2 separate regions of the Homo sapiens genome follow, and region 1 is linked to region 2. The links are contacts of gene promoters, found by promoter capture Hi-C in human tissues and cell types (Jung and others, 2019). All regions are on one chromosome and are shown on one strand. Each heading gives the region's core, a stretch centred on a gene start or on the middle of the fragment in contact. The rest is flanking DNA. Distances are from core to core; before and after follow the strand shown.

Region 1 (6,151 bases), core at 2,486-4,985, 310 kb after region 2:
CAACCTTTGTGGGAATGAGGAGAACCAGAGACCATCACCATCACACGTAAAAAGGATCCTATAGCAACAATGTGGCTGTCAAAAATCAGCTGGAGGCCAGGCGCGGTGGCTCACGCCTGTAATCCTAGCACTTTGGGAGGCCGAGGCGGGCGGATCACCTGAGGTCAGGAGTTTGAGACTAGCCTGGTCAACATGGTGAAACCCCGTCTCTACTAAAAATGCAAAAAATTAGCTGGGTGTGGTGGTGCATGCCTGTAATCCCAGCTACTTGGGAAGTTGAGGCGGGAGAATCACTTGAACCTGGGAGGCAGAGGTTGCAGTGAGCCCAGACTATGCCACTGCACTCCAGCCTGGGTGACAGACTGAGACCCTGTCTCAAAAAAAAAAAAAAAATCAGCTGGAGCTTAAATTATACATTGTTTGCAATCCAGACTGTACTTGCTTTCTTGTCAATGGCTTGAGATATGTGCAGAGGCCCCTTAAACATGTGTAGGTGACCTTTCTCTGTCGCCCAGGCTGGAGTGCAGGGGCACAATCTCAGCTAACTGCAACCTCCACTTCCCGGGCTCAAGCAATCCTCCCGCTGCAGCCTCCTGAGTAGCTGGGACTACAGGTGTGTGCCATCAAGCTTGGCTGATTTTTTTGTACTTTTTTTTTTTTTTTCGAGATGGAGTCTCGCTCTGTCGCCCAGGCTGGAGTGCAGTGGCGCAATCTCAGCTCACTGCAAGCTCTGCCTCCCGGGTTCACACTATTCTCCTGCCTCAGCCTCCCAAGTAGCTGGTACTACAGGCGCCCGCCACCATGCCCAGCTAATTTTTGTATTTTTTTTAGTAGAGACGGGGTTTCACCGTGTTAGCCAGGATGGTCTCGATCTCCTGACCTCGTGATCCGCCCGCCTCGGCCTCCCAAAGTGCTGGGATTACAGGCGTGAGCCACTGCACCTGGCCGATTTTTTGTATTTTTAGTAGAGACAGGGTTTTGGCATGCTGCCCAGGCTGGTCTGGAACTCCCGACCTCAAGGGATCCGCCTGTCTAGGCCTCCCAAAGTGTTAAGATTACAGGTGTGAGCCACCACGCCTGGCCCAGAAATACTCTTTTTTTTTTTTTTTGAGATGGAGTCTCACTCTGTTGCCCAGCCTGGATGGAGTGCAGTGGCGCGATCTCGGCTCACTGCAAGCTCCGCCTTCTGGGTTCACGCCATTCTCCTGCCTCAGCCTCCCGAGTAGCTGGGACTACAGGCACCTGCCACCATTTTTTTTTGTATTTTTAGTAGAGACGGGGCTAATTTTTTTTTGTATTTTTAGTAGAGATGGGGTTTCACCGTGTTAACCAGGATGGTCTCGATCTCCTTACCTCGTGATCTGCCCGCCTCAGCCTCCCAAAGTGCTAGGATTACAGGCGTGAGCTACCACACCTGGCCCAGAAATACTTCTTTATCAGAAATATTACTGGCGGGTGTAGCAGGGCACGCCTATAATCCCAGCACTTTGGGAGGTCGAGGCAGGCAGATCCCTTAAGCTTAGGAGTTCAAGACCAACCTGGGCAATATGGTGAAAGCCGTCTCTACAGAAAATTAGCCAGGCACAGTGGTGTGTACCTGTGGTCTCAGCTCCTAGGGAGGCTGAGGTGGGAGGATCACTTGAACCCAGGAGGCTGAGATTGCAGTTAGCTGAGATTGTGCCCCTGCACTCCAGCCTAGGCGACACGGTGAGACTCTGTTTCAAAAAACAAAAAAGAAATATGACTTATTTACAAATATTTCTTTCTTTTTTATTTTTAGAGACAGGGTCTCACTATTACGTAAGTATTATAAATTATATATATATGTTTGTTTGTTTGTTTGTTTTTCTGAGACAGAGTCTTGCTCTGTCACCCAGGCTGGAGTGCAGCGGCACAATCTCCACTCACTGCAACCTCCGCCTCTTGGGTTCAAGTGATTCTCCTGCCTCAGCCTCCTGAGTAACTGGGACTACAGGTGCCCGCCACAATGCCCAGCTAATTTTTTATATTTTTGGTGGAGATGGGGTTTCACTGTGTTAGCCAGGATGGTCTCGATTTCCTGACCTCGTCATCCACCTACCTCAGCCTCCCAAAGTGCTGCTAGGATTACAGACGTGAGCCAGTAAGTCCGACATCTTTTTTTTTTTTTTTTTTTTTTGTGGAAACAGGGTCTCACTGTGTCTCCCAGGCTGGAGTGCAGGGGCACAATCTCGACTCACTGCAGCTTTGACCTCCCAGGCTCAAGCGATCCTCTCACCTCAGCCTTCCAAGGAGCTGGGACTACAGGCACCAGGCCCATGCTACTGGTCCCTGCTGTTTACAAATACACTAGACTTGGGTTTTAGCTGCTCTCTCAACACCAGGTGGGAAATGGATTGTTCGGAAGGTAGAGGAATAGAGGAGGGACCTGCTTAGGAAGGTGGGGGTGCTCTAGATGAGAGAGGAGGTGCTGTGACCTCAAGGTCTGGGGAAAGTGGGTGAGTGCAGGGCCCCATCAAGGCTCTCAACAAGGCCTCTCTCTCTGGAGCTCAGATGTGAAGCCCAGAAGGCAGGTCAGAGGCCTGAGGTCAGAGGCAGGTCAAAGGTGGGGGTCCCACCTGGTCCCCTTGGCGCCTTCCCTTGGAATGCAGTGACCAGCTGCCTGGAAGGGTGGGCAAGGGGACAACAGGATGGGGTAAAGGCCAGTTACAAGTAGAATCCTGGAAGGCCGGGCGCAGTGGCTCACGCCTGTAATCCCAACACTTTGGGAGGCCAAGGCGGGCAGCTCACTTGAGGTCAGAAGTTTGAGACCAGCTTGGCCAACATGGTGAAACCCCGTCTCTACCAAAAAGTACAAAAATTAGCCGGGCGTGGTGGCACATGCCTGTAATCCCAGCTACTCGGGAGGCTGAGGCAGGAAAATCGTTTGAACCCGGGAGGCAGAGGCTGCAGTGAGCCGAGATCCCGCCACTGCACTCCAACCTGGGTGACAGAGTGAGACTCTGTCTCAAAACAAACAAACAAAAACCAAGTAGAATCCTGGATAGACAGTGGCTCAGGGACTCAGCTGTCCCCAAATCACCTACCTTAGCTCTTTGTGCAGGGGATGGGGGATCCCCAAGATCTTCAAAGATAGGGAGGTATCCTCAAGATCTTCAAAGGTGGCCAGGCGTGGTGGCTCACGCCTGTAATCGCAACACTTTGGGAGGTCAAGATGAGAGGAGGCCATCTTAAGGCCAGGAGTTCAAGACCAGTCGGGGCAACATAGCAAGACTCTGCTTCTGTTTCTGTTTTTGTTTTTGTTTTTTAATGTTTCCTCGAAATCCCACCTTAACATCTACACAATGGTGCCTACAGTTTTCCCCATTAACTTCCTCTCTGGGGACAGAATATTCCCCTACCCACCTAAGTTCAGCCAGAAGGAGATGCCTCATCCCCCCCACCCAGGCTTCCCAGTGCTGAGAACAAAAGAAACCAGTTTAGTTAGCATTTCCTGTGAATTCAAATGGGGGCCAGCAGTGCAACTGGGACCAGCCCATTCCCTGGGGGAGACTCAGCAGTGCTGGCCACTTTGCAGAGCCCCGTCTGGGTCCCCCACCCTGGCCCCCAAGGGCCACAGCATCCCCTTCCACCCACAGGCCTGGGCAAGGTGCAGTCCCCAGACTTCTGCAATCTTAACCGCTGTGCTTCCGTCGCAGTGGGAGGCCCCGCCTTTTCCCCTGCCTGCCCTTCGGGCACCTCAGGAAGGCACCTTCCTCTGTCAGAATGGCCACCATGGTACCATCCGTGTTGTGGCCCAGGGCCTGCTGGACTCTGCTGGTCTGCTGTCTGCTGACCCCAGGTGAGACCAGTCAAGCCGGGGAGGGCTGGAGAGGGCTGCGTTTTGGGGATCAGTAGAGGGTAGAGGAATAGAACGCAACGCTGTTCACATCCTGCCACACTGCGACCTGGCCGCTGACTCTGTATCCTCGGGAGAAAGTTCTGGTTCCTTAGTTCAGCCTTCAGGTGGTCAGGCCCCAGCATAGGCTTGTACGCCATCCCTCTCCCCTAACACACACACACACACCCCTCATGCTTCCTGCTCCATCTGAACTCCTGAAATTTGCCCTTTGCGTATGTGCTTCCCTCTGCCAGGATCACCTGTCCCTTTCACTTGCTAACTCCTACTTAGCCTTCAGTTTCGGGCTGCAATGGTCCCCGCTTCCAGGAAGCCTTCCCTGACTCACCTCCTCCTATGCTGGATCAGAGCCTCTTCTGGCCTCCTTCTGAGTTCTCCCCGGTCTCTGATGGATTCTACCTTTCCCACTGGACCATGAAGGCAGGAACCCTTCTGTCTCGGCACAAGGAGAGAGGTGTTAAATGGTGGGGCCTGTTGATGCGTGGGTTGGGGGACAAGGAAACAAACACCAGGACTTCTTCATGTTCCTGAAGGTGTCCAGGGGCAGGAGTTCCTTTTGCGGGTGGAGCCCCAGAACCCTGTGCTCTCTGCTGGAGGGTCCCTGTTTGTGAACTGCAGTACTGATTGTCCCAGCTCTGAGAAAATCGCCTTGGAGACGTCCCTATCAAAGGAGCTGGTGGCCAGTGGCATGGGCTGGGCAGCCTTCAATCTCAGCAACGTGACTGGCAACAGTCGGATCCTCTGCTCAGTGTACTGCAATGGCTCTCAGATAACAGGCTCCTCTAACATCACCGTGTACAGTGAGTCGACGTGTCCGGAGGTGGGACTGGTCTTGGGTAGTGGTGTGGGCAAGTGGCCAATGGCTCAGGAGAGTGGGGACCCTCAGTTTGCAAAGAATGGACCACAGTTCTGACCCAGAGCTCAGACCTGGACATTTGTGTGTGAGATACAAAGATAGACAGAGACAGAGACACAGAGACAGAGACAGAGATATAGAGACGCATCTCAATCTCATGCCAAGGCAGCAGTTGTGAAATCAATTAACTTGGGCCCCAACAAGCATTTTTTTTTTTTTTTTGAGACAGAGTTTCGCTCTTTTTGCCTAGGCTGGAGTGCAGTGGCACGATGTCGGCTCACTGCAACCTTCGCCTCCTGGGTTCAAGTGATTCTCCTGCCTCAGCCTCCCGAGTGGCTGAGATTACACATGCACGCCACCACACCCAGCAAATTTTGTATTTTTAGTTGAGATGGCATTTCACCATGTTGGCCAGTCTGGTCTTGAACTCCTGACCTCAGGCGATCCGCCCACCTCAGCCTCCCAAAGTGCTGGGATTACAGGCATGGGCCACTGCGCCCGGCCCCAACAAGCTTTTTTTTTTTTTTGAGATGGCGTCTCTTACTCTGTAGCCCAGGCTGGAGTGCAGTGGTGCAATCTCGGCTCACTGCGACCTCTGCCTCCCAGGTCCAGCTAATGCCCAGCTAAGTTTTGTATTTTTAGTAGAGACGGGGTGTTCCGCCCACATCAGCCTCTCAAAGTGCTGGGATTACAAGTGTGAGCCACTGCGCCTGGCCCCAACAATAATCCCAACACTTTGGGAGGCCAAGGCAGGAGGATTGCTTGAGTCCGGAAATTTAAGACCAGGCAGAGCAATATAGGGACACCCCGTCTCTACAAAAATAAATAAAAAATATTAGCTGGGCATGGTGGCACATGCCTGAAGTCCCAGCTACTTGGGGGACCAAGGTGGGAGAATCGCTTGAGCCCAGGAGTTCAAGGCTGTAGTGAGCTATAATTGCACCACTGCACTCCAGCCTGTGCAAAAAAGCAAGACCCTTGTCTCTTAAGCAAAAAAGGGGGTACCCCTTTCAGTCAGCAGTAGGCAAATGGAGGTTTTACATTTACACTTTTTTATACCTTTATTTTAGAGACAGGATCTCCCTATGTTGCCTAGGTTGGTCTCAAACTCCTGGGCTCAGGCAATCCTCCCACTTCAGTCTCTCCAGTAGCTGGGATTGCAGGCCTGGCTACTTTTTTTTTTCTTTTCTTTTCTTTTTTTTTTTTTTTGAGACAGAGTCTCACTCTGTCCCCCAGGCTAGAGTGCAGTGGCGCAATCTTGGCTCACTGCAACCTCTGCCTTCCGGGTTCAAGCGATTCTCCTGCCTCAGCCTCCTGAGTAGCTGGGATTACAGGCGCATGCCAACACGCCCAGCTAATTTTTGTATTTTTAGTAGGGACAGGATTTCACCATGTTGCCCAGGCTGGTCTCAAACTCC
Region 2 (6,543 bases), core at 2,295-4,794:
CTCCTTTTCTGAACCATTAAATATGACTGTTTGCCAATGGTTGTATTTAGTAAGATTTGTAGACTCTGTTTTTCTTTTGACACAGCTGCAAGGCCAACAGCTGTGCAAAGCCACAAGTTATGCTAAGTCAGCAGTTATGCTATAGATTACATGACCTGTGACTGTATCATTAACTGCTTTTGTTTTGCTTCTGTAAGTTTGCCTATAAAAACCACACTCAGTCTTTGTTCAATGGTCAGCTTTTCAGATACAAATCCACTGAGCCGGTGTACATCTAAATAAATCCTCCTGTTTCCCGTGTCAGTCTCTCTGGTCCTTTGTTTCCTGCAACAATTACAGAAATGAGTGCCTAGCCGGGCATGGTGGCTCACGCCTGTAATCCCCACACTTTGGGAGGCCGAGGCTGGAGGATCCCTTAAGCCCAGGAGTTTGAGGCCAGCTTGAGCAACATGGCAAAACCCAGTCTCTACAAAAATTAGCTGAGCGTGATGGCCTGTGTCCATAGTTCCATCTACTTGGGAGGAGTAGGTGGGAGGATCACTTGAGCTGTGGAGGTCCAGGCTGCAGTGAGCCGTGATGGAGTCACTGCACTTTTCAGCCTGGATGGCACAGCTAGACCGTCTCAAAAAAGAAATGAGTGCATGCTGTACCCTCTGCTTTTCTATTTTATTTACATTTTACTGTGGATTTTTAATAGGTAGCATAGTCACATGATACGTCAAATGTGCCAAAGACGCCGGGCGCGGTGGCTCACGCCTGTAATTCCAGCACTTTGGGAGGCTGAAGTGGGCGGATCACGAGGTCAGGAGATCAAGACCATCCTGGCTAACACAGTGAAACCCCGTCTCTACTAAAAATACAAAAAAAAATTAGCCGGGCGTGGTGGTGGGCATCTGTAGTCTCAGCGACTCGGGAGGCTGAGGCAGGAGGATGGCATGAACTCGGGAGGCAGAGGTTGCAGTGAGCTGAGATCGTGCCATTGCACTCCAGTCTGGGCGACAGAGTGAGACTCCATCTCAAAAAAAAAAAAAAGTGCCAAAGACATGAGAGCACAAAGTCTTCCTCAGACATCCAGTTCCCTCCCTCTTAGAAGCCATTGTACAGTTTTGTTTTTTGTTTTTTGTTTTTGAAACGGAGTCTTGCTCTGTCTCCCAGGCTGGAGTGCAGTGGCACGATCTTGGCTCACTGCAAGCTCCGCCTCCTGGGTTCACGCCATTCTCCTGCCTCAGCCTCCCGAGTAGCTGAGACTACAGGCGCCCACCACCACGCCCGGCTAATGTTTTGTATTTTTAGTAGAGACTGGGTTTCACCGGGTGAGTCAGGATGGTCTCGATCTCCTGACCTCGTGATCCACCCGCCTCGGCCTCCCAAAGTGCTAGGATTATATGCGTGAGCCACCGCGACCAGCCATTGTACAGTTTTTTGTGTAACTACAGTAGAGTTTTATTTTCAGAGGTGCATAATCATATTCTTGTTTTTCACATAAATTGATAAGTTATTCTGCACCAGGCTTTTTAATTTCATTTCCTGTGCCTCAGATCTGTCTCACAAATAGAGCTGGAAATTGAAGAAAGGTTTGGTAAGATGATTGGGGCATGCACTAAGATAAAATTGGTTAAAATGCCAGGGCATGGTGGAACACACCTGTAGTCCCAGCTACTCAGGAGGCTGAGGTGGGAGGATCATTTGAGCCCAGGAGGTTGAGGCTGCAGTGAACTGAGATTGGGCCACTGCTCTCTAGCCTAGGCAACAGAAGCCCTGTCTCAAAAAAACAAAAACAAAACCAAAAAATTGGTTAAAGCTTTAAATTGTTGAAGGTCACTGTGATAATAACGAATGTTAATAACAAAGCCTAGACTGGCTTTTTTTCGGAACAGGTCAGTTTTAGTGACTTGCTTGAGCTAACAGCACTGCCAAATGGCAGAACGAGGATGGTTACTAGTTTTCTGACTCCCAACTCCAGAGAGCCTAAGGTTACTTAAAACGCTTTTGAAGATCTCATTCCGCTAAGGCGTTTCTTGCCCCAGGGACCCCAAACACAGTAAAGGGCGGATAGGGTCATGATGACAAGCACAGTCTTTGGATCAAACCCAAACCTCCTAGGGTTTGATTTGGAGGAGGACTGATTCGGAGTTAATTCAACATCAAGGGGTTGCTTCAGTACCTGGCATGGAGTTAAAGCTTCAAAAACAGTAATGGTTATGATTGTTACCTCTTGAACGGGTGCCCCATCCAACCAGAACTTCCTGAAAAATGTTGTCTTGGCCAGGCATGCTGGCTCATGCCTGTAATCCTACACTTTGGGAGGCTGAGGCAGGGGGATTGCTTGAGCCCAGAAGTTCAAGACCAGTCTGGGCAACATAGTGAGACCCCATCTCTATGTTTTTTATCTATCTATCTATTTATTTATTTTTGAGATGGAGTCTCGTTCTGTAGTCCCAGCTAGGGTGCAGTGATAACAATCTCAGCTTACTGCAACCTCCAATTCCCGAGTTTAAGCAATTCTGCCTTAGCCTCCCAAGTCACTGGGATTGCAGGCGTACACCACCATGGTCAGCTAATTGTTGTATTTTTAGTAGAGACTGGGTTTTGCCATGTTGGCCAGGCTGGTCTCAAACTCCTGACCTCAAGTTATCCACCCACCTTGGCTTCCCAAAGTGCTGGGATTACAGGCATGAGCTACTGCACCCAGCCCCATCTCTACATTAAAAAAAAAAAAAGTTTTCAAGAATAAAAACAAAAAGAAGGCTGGGGGCAGTGGCTCATACTTGTAATCCTAGCACATTGGGAGGCCGAGATTGGTGGATCACTTGAGGTCAGGAGTTCAAGACCACCCTGGCCAACATGGTGAAACTCTGTCTTTACTAAAAGTACAAAAAGTAGCTGGGCATGATGGCTGGCATCTGTAATTCCAGCTACTCGGGAGGCTGAGGCACGAGAATCGCTTGAACCTGGGAGGTGGAGGTTGCAGTGAGCCGAGATCAAGCCACTACAGTCCAGCCTGGGTGACAGGGAGACTGTGTCTAAAAAAAAAAAGAAAGGGCCAGGTGTGGTGGTTCACCCTCTAATCCTAGCACTTTGGGAGGCCGAGGCGGGTGGATCACTTGAGGTCAGGAGTTCGAGACCAGCCTGGCCAACATGGTGAAACCCCATCTCTCCTTAAAATATAAAAAATTAGCTGGGCGTGGTGGTACGCACCTGTAATCCCAGCTACTCGGGAGGCTGAGGCAGGAGAATCACTTGAACCCAGGAAGCGGAGGTTGCAGTGAGCTGAGATTGCACCATTGCACTCCAGACTGGGGGACAAGAGTGAGACTTCGTCTCAAAAAAAAAAAAAAAGGAAAAAGAAAAAAATTTTTTGAAGTAAAAAGTTTTCAGCCCAACTTTCCAATAAACCCCATCCATCAGGTTCCTAGTCCCTGGTCACCGTAAAGGATGGAAGACACAAGATGCCATCTGCCCTGTCTTGCTGAACTGCTACCCTGACCCGACCTCGCACCTCTGCCCTTGTCCTTCCACCACTCAGTGGTCACAAACCCTGTATACAACACCATTCTCTCCTCCTTGCCTTAGTGACATCATCTGTCATCTGGCTATTCCTTCTCTCTTCCCTCCCTCCCACTCATTGGTTGAAGATTGAGGTCATCCCCCTCTTGTAATCTGTCAGTCTAGACAGGTCCTGTCACTCTCAGTGACTCTGCTGTCCTTACAGCCTCTCTATTCATTGTCTTCCTCATCTTGAAAGATTCCACCCACTCTCCCAATCACACCCAGTTAACTTCCCTCTCGAAAGCTTTTTGTCCTATGCCTGTTCCCTTCTTGCCCCCCCCCAGGGTGGACATGGGTGACCACTCTGGGATGGACACTGTGGGATGACCACAGTTGTTGGGGAACCATTCCTCTCCCTTGATCAAACTGTAGTCTAGATGGCAGGTCCCTGCTGCCTGACTCCCAAACTAGGCCCACACCTTGACTACAATGATTGACTCAATGATTTACAATGAGTAAATGATCATAATCAGGCTGGTCAGAGTCAGTGAGCTCCAGGCCTGAGACTTAGGAGCAAGAAAAGACTTTTCTGGCCCTCTAATCCCAACACTTTGGGAGGCCGAGGTGGGTGGATCAAGAGTTCAAGAGTTCAAGAGCAGCCTGGCCAAGATGGTGAAACTCCATCTCTACTAAAAATACAAAAATTAGCCGGGCATGGTGGCGGGCTCCTGTAATCCCAGCTACTCGGGAGGCTGAGGCAGAGAATTGCTTGAACCCAGGAAGCGGAGGTTGCAGTGAGCCAAGATCATGCCACTGCACTCCAGGCTGGGCGACAGAGCGAGACTCCGTCTCAAAAAAAGAGAAGACTTCTCATCTTAAAGCCAGGAAAATGTAGCTGCGTGCGGTGGCTCATGCCTGTAATCCCAGCACGTTGGGAGGCCAAGGCAGGCGGATCATGAGGTCAGGAGATCGAGACCATCCTGGCTAACATGGTAAAACCCTGTCTCTACGAAAAATACAAAAAAATTAGCCGGGGGTGGTGGCGGGCAGCTGTAGTCCCAGCTACTCAGGAGCTGAGGCAGGAGAATGGCGTGAACCCGGGAGGCGGAGCTTGCAGTGAGCCTAGATCGTGCCACTGCACTCCAGCCTGAGTGACAGAGCAAGACTCCATCTCAAAAAAAAAAAAAAAAAAAAAAAAAGGCCAGGAAAATGTATGATGTGTGTATTACTAGGTTTCTCCGAGAAAGCTAATAGGAGGTAGGTAGATGAGAGGGGATTTAGCAGAATAATTGGCTCATGTGATCATGGAGGCTGAGATGTCCTACCACATGCATTGACTGCAGACCCTGAAAAGCCAGCAGCTCCAGTAGCTGAAGACCCTGCAAAGCCAGTAGCGAGGCTCAGTCTGAATCCTAAAGCTTCAGAGCCAGGGACACCAATGGTGTAATTCCCAGTCCAAGGCCGAAGGCCTGAGAACCAGGGATCACTGGTATAAGTCTTGGAGTGTCAAGACAGGAGGAGAAGAGTGTCCCAGTTCTGAGGAGGAAAATGCTTTCTCTCCTTTTTCTGTTCTGTCGGAGCCCCAGCAAGTTGGATGGCGCTCACCCAGAAATAATGCTTTATCAGACGTGTTGCTCTGTCGCTCAGGCTGGAGCACAGTAGTGTGATCTCAGCTCACTGCACCCTCCACCCCCTGAGCTAAAGTGACCTTCTCACTTCATCCTACTGAGTAGCTGGGACAACATGTGCATGACCACCACACCCTGCTAATTTTCATAGTTTTTGTTGAGACAAGCTTTCCACATGTTGCCCAGGCTGGTCTCGAATTCAAGCTCAAGCGATCTGCCCACCTCGGCCTCCCAAAGTGCTGATTGCAGGCGTGAGCCACGGAGCCCAGCCACTGTTTTTTTTTTTTTCTTTGTCTTATTTTTACCACATCACAGCTCAAATCTGAGTATTTTCTAATCCAGCCAAGTTCACACCTAAAATTAACTATCACAGCACAGTGTGGTTGGAGGCAGGGAATATACCCAGATAAAGGAACTTGGCAGAGAGTGAAGCCAACCCAGAAGTGGAGCCAAAGCATGAAGCCAGAAAACACTATGGTGGTTCCTCAAAAAATTAAACATAAACCAGGCACAGTGGCGAGTGCCTGTCATCCCAGCTACTTGGGAGGCTGAGGCGGGATGATCCCTTCAGTCCGGGAGCTCAAGGCCAGCCCAGGTAACATAGTGAGACCCAGTGGCTTAATAAATAAGAAAGAGATGGAGATGGCAAATTTTATGCTATATGTATCGTACCACAAATCTTTTTCTTTCTTTCTTTTTTTTTCTGAGACAGAGTTTTGCTCTGTTGCCCAGGCTGGAGTGCAATGGTGTCATCTTGGTTCACCACAACCTCTGCCTCCTGGGTTCAAGCGATTCTCCTGCCTCAGCCTCCCGAGTAGCTGGGATTACAGGCATGTGCCACCATGCCTGGCTAATTTTTGTATTTTTAGTAGCAGCAGGTTTTCACCATGTTGGCCAGGCTGGTCTCAAACTCCTGACCTCATGATTCACCCGCCTCAGCCTCCCAAAGTGCTGGGATTACAGGCATGAGCCACCGCACCCGGCCGCCAGGAGCTATTTTTTAGGTGGGCATGGTAACAGGAGCTGGGGCTGAATAAAATGCCAGATTCAAAGGATCCAGGGAAACAAAGGCATCGAGGAAGGGGTCAGTGCCAGCATAGGGTAGAACTTGAGGACTCTGGAGCCAAGACCTGGGTTCAAATGCCTTCTTGGAAACAAACAAACAAAAATGCTGGCCAGGCTTGGTGGCTCATGCCTGTAATCCCAGCACTTTGGGAGGCCGAGGCAGGTGGATCACATGAGGTCAGGAGTTTGAGACCAGGCTAGCCAACATGGTGAAACCCCGTCTCTACTAAAACTACAAAAATTAGCTGGATGTGGTGGTACGCGCCTGTAATCCCAGCTACTCAGGAGGCTGAGGCACGAGAATCACTTGAATCCAGGAGGTTTAGTGAGCTGAGACTGTGCCACTGCACTGTGGCACTAT

The links. The method cuts DNA at HindIII sites, captures the fragments that hold promoters and counts their contacts. A contact is called where the count stands out against the background at its distance.
Region 1: the fragment with the promoter of ICAM3 here is called in contact with a fragment that was not itself captured in region 2 in 1 of the 25 tissues and cell types used here (dorsolateral prefrontal cortex).

The regions. Positions count from the first base shown.
Region 1 is chr19:10,337,208-10,343,358 of GRCh38, reverse strand. It overlaps ICAM3 (intercellular adhesion molecule 3), which reads left to right and starts at 3,735. Exons shown (of 7, transcript NM_002162.5): 1 at 3,735-3,820; 2 at 4,411-4,677. The coding sequence starts at 3,745. RefSeq lists enhancers at 2,137-2,884, 2,885-3,632, 3,726-3,775, 3,996-4,095, 4,381-5,129. The HindIII fragment of the contact is 6,056 bases long and covers 3,383-6,151 here.
Region 2 is chr19:10,645,622-10,652,164 of GRCh38, reverse strand. ILF3-DT (ILF3 divergent transcript) reads left to right here. Exons shown (of 1, transcript NR_024333.1): 1 at 1-303. Among named protein-coding and RNA genes, the nearest start is that of ILF3-DT, 5.0 kb to the left of the region's middle. The HindIII fragment of the contact is 3,105 bases long and covers 1,992-5,096 here.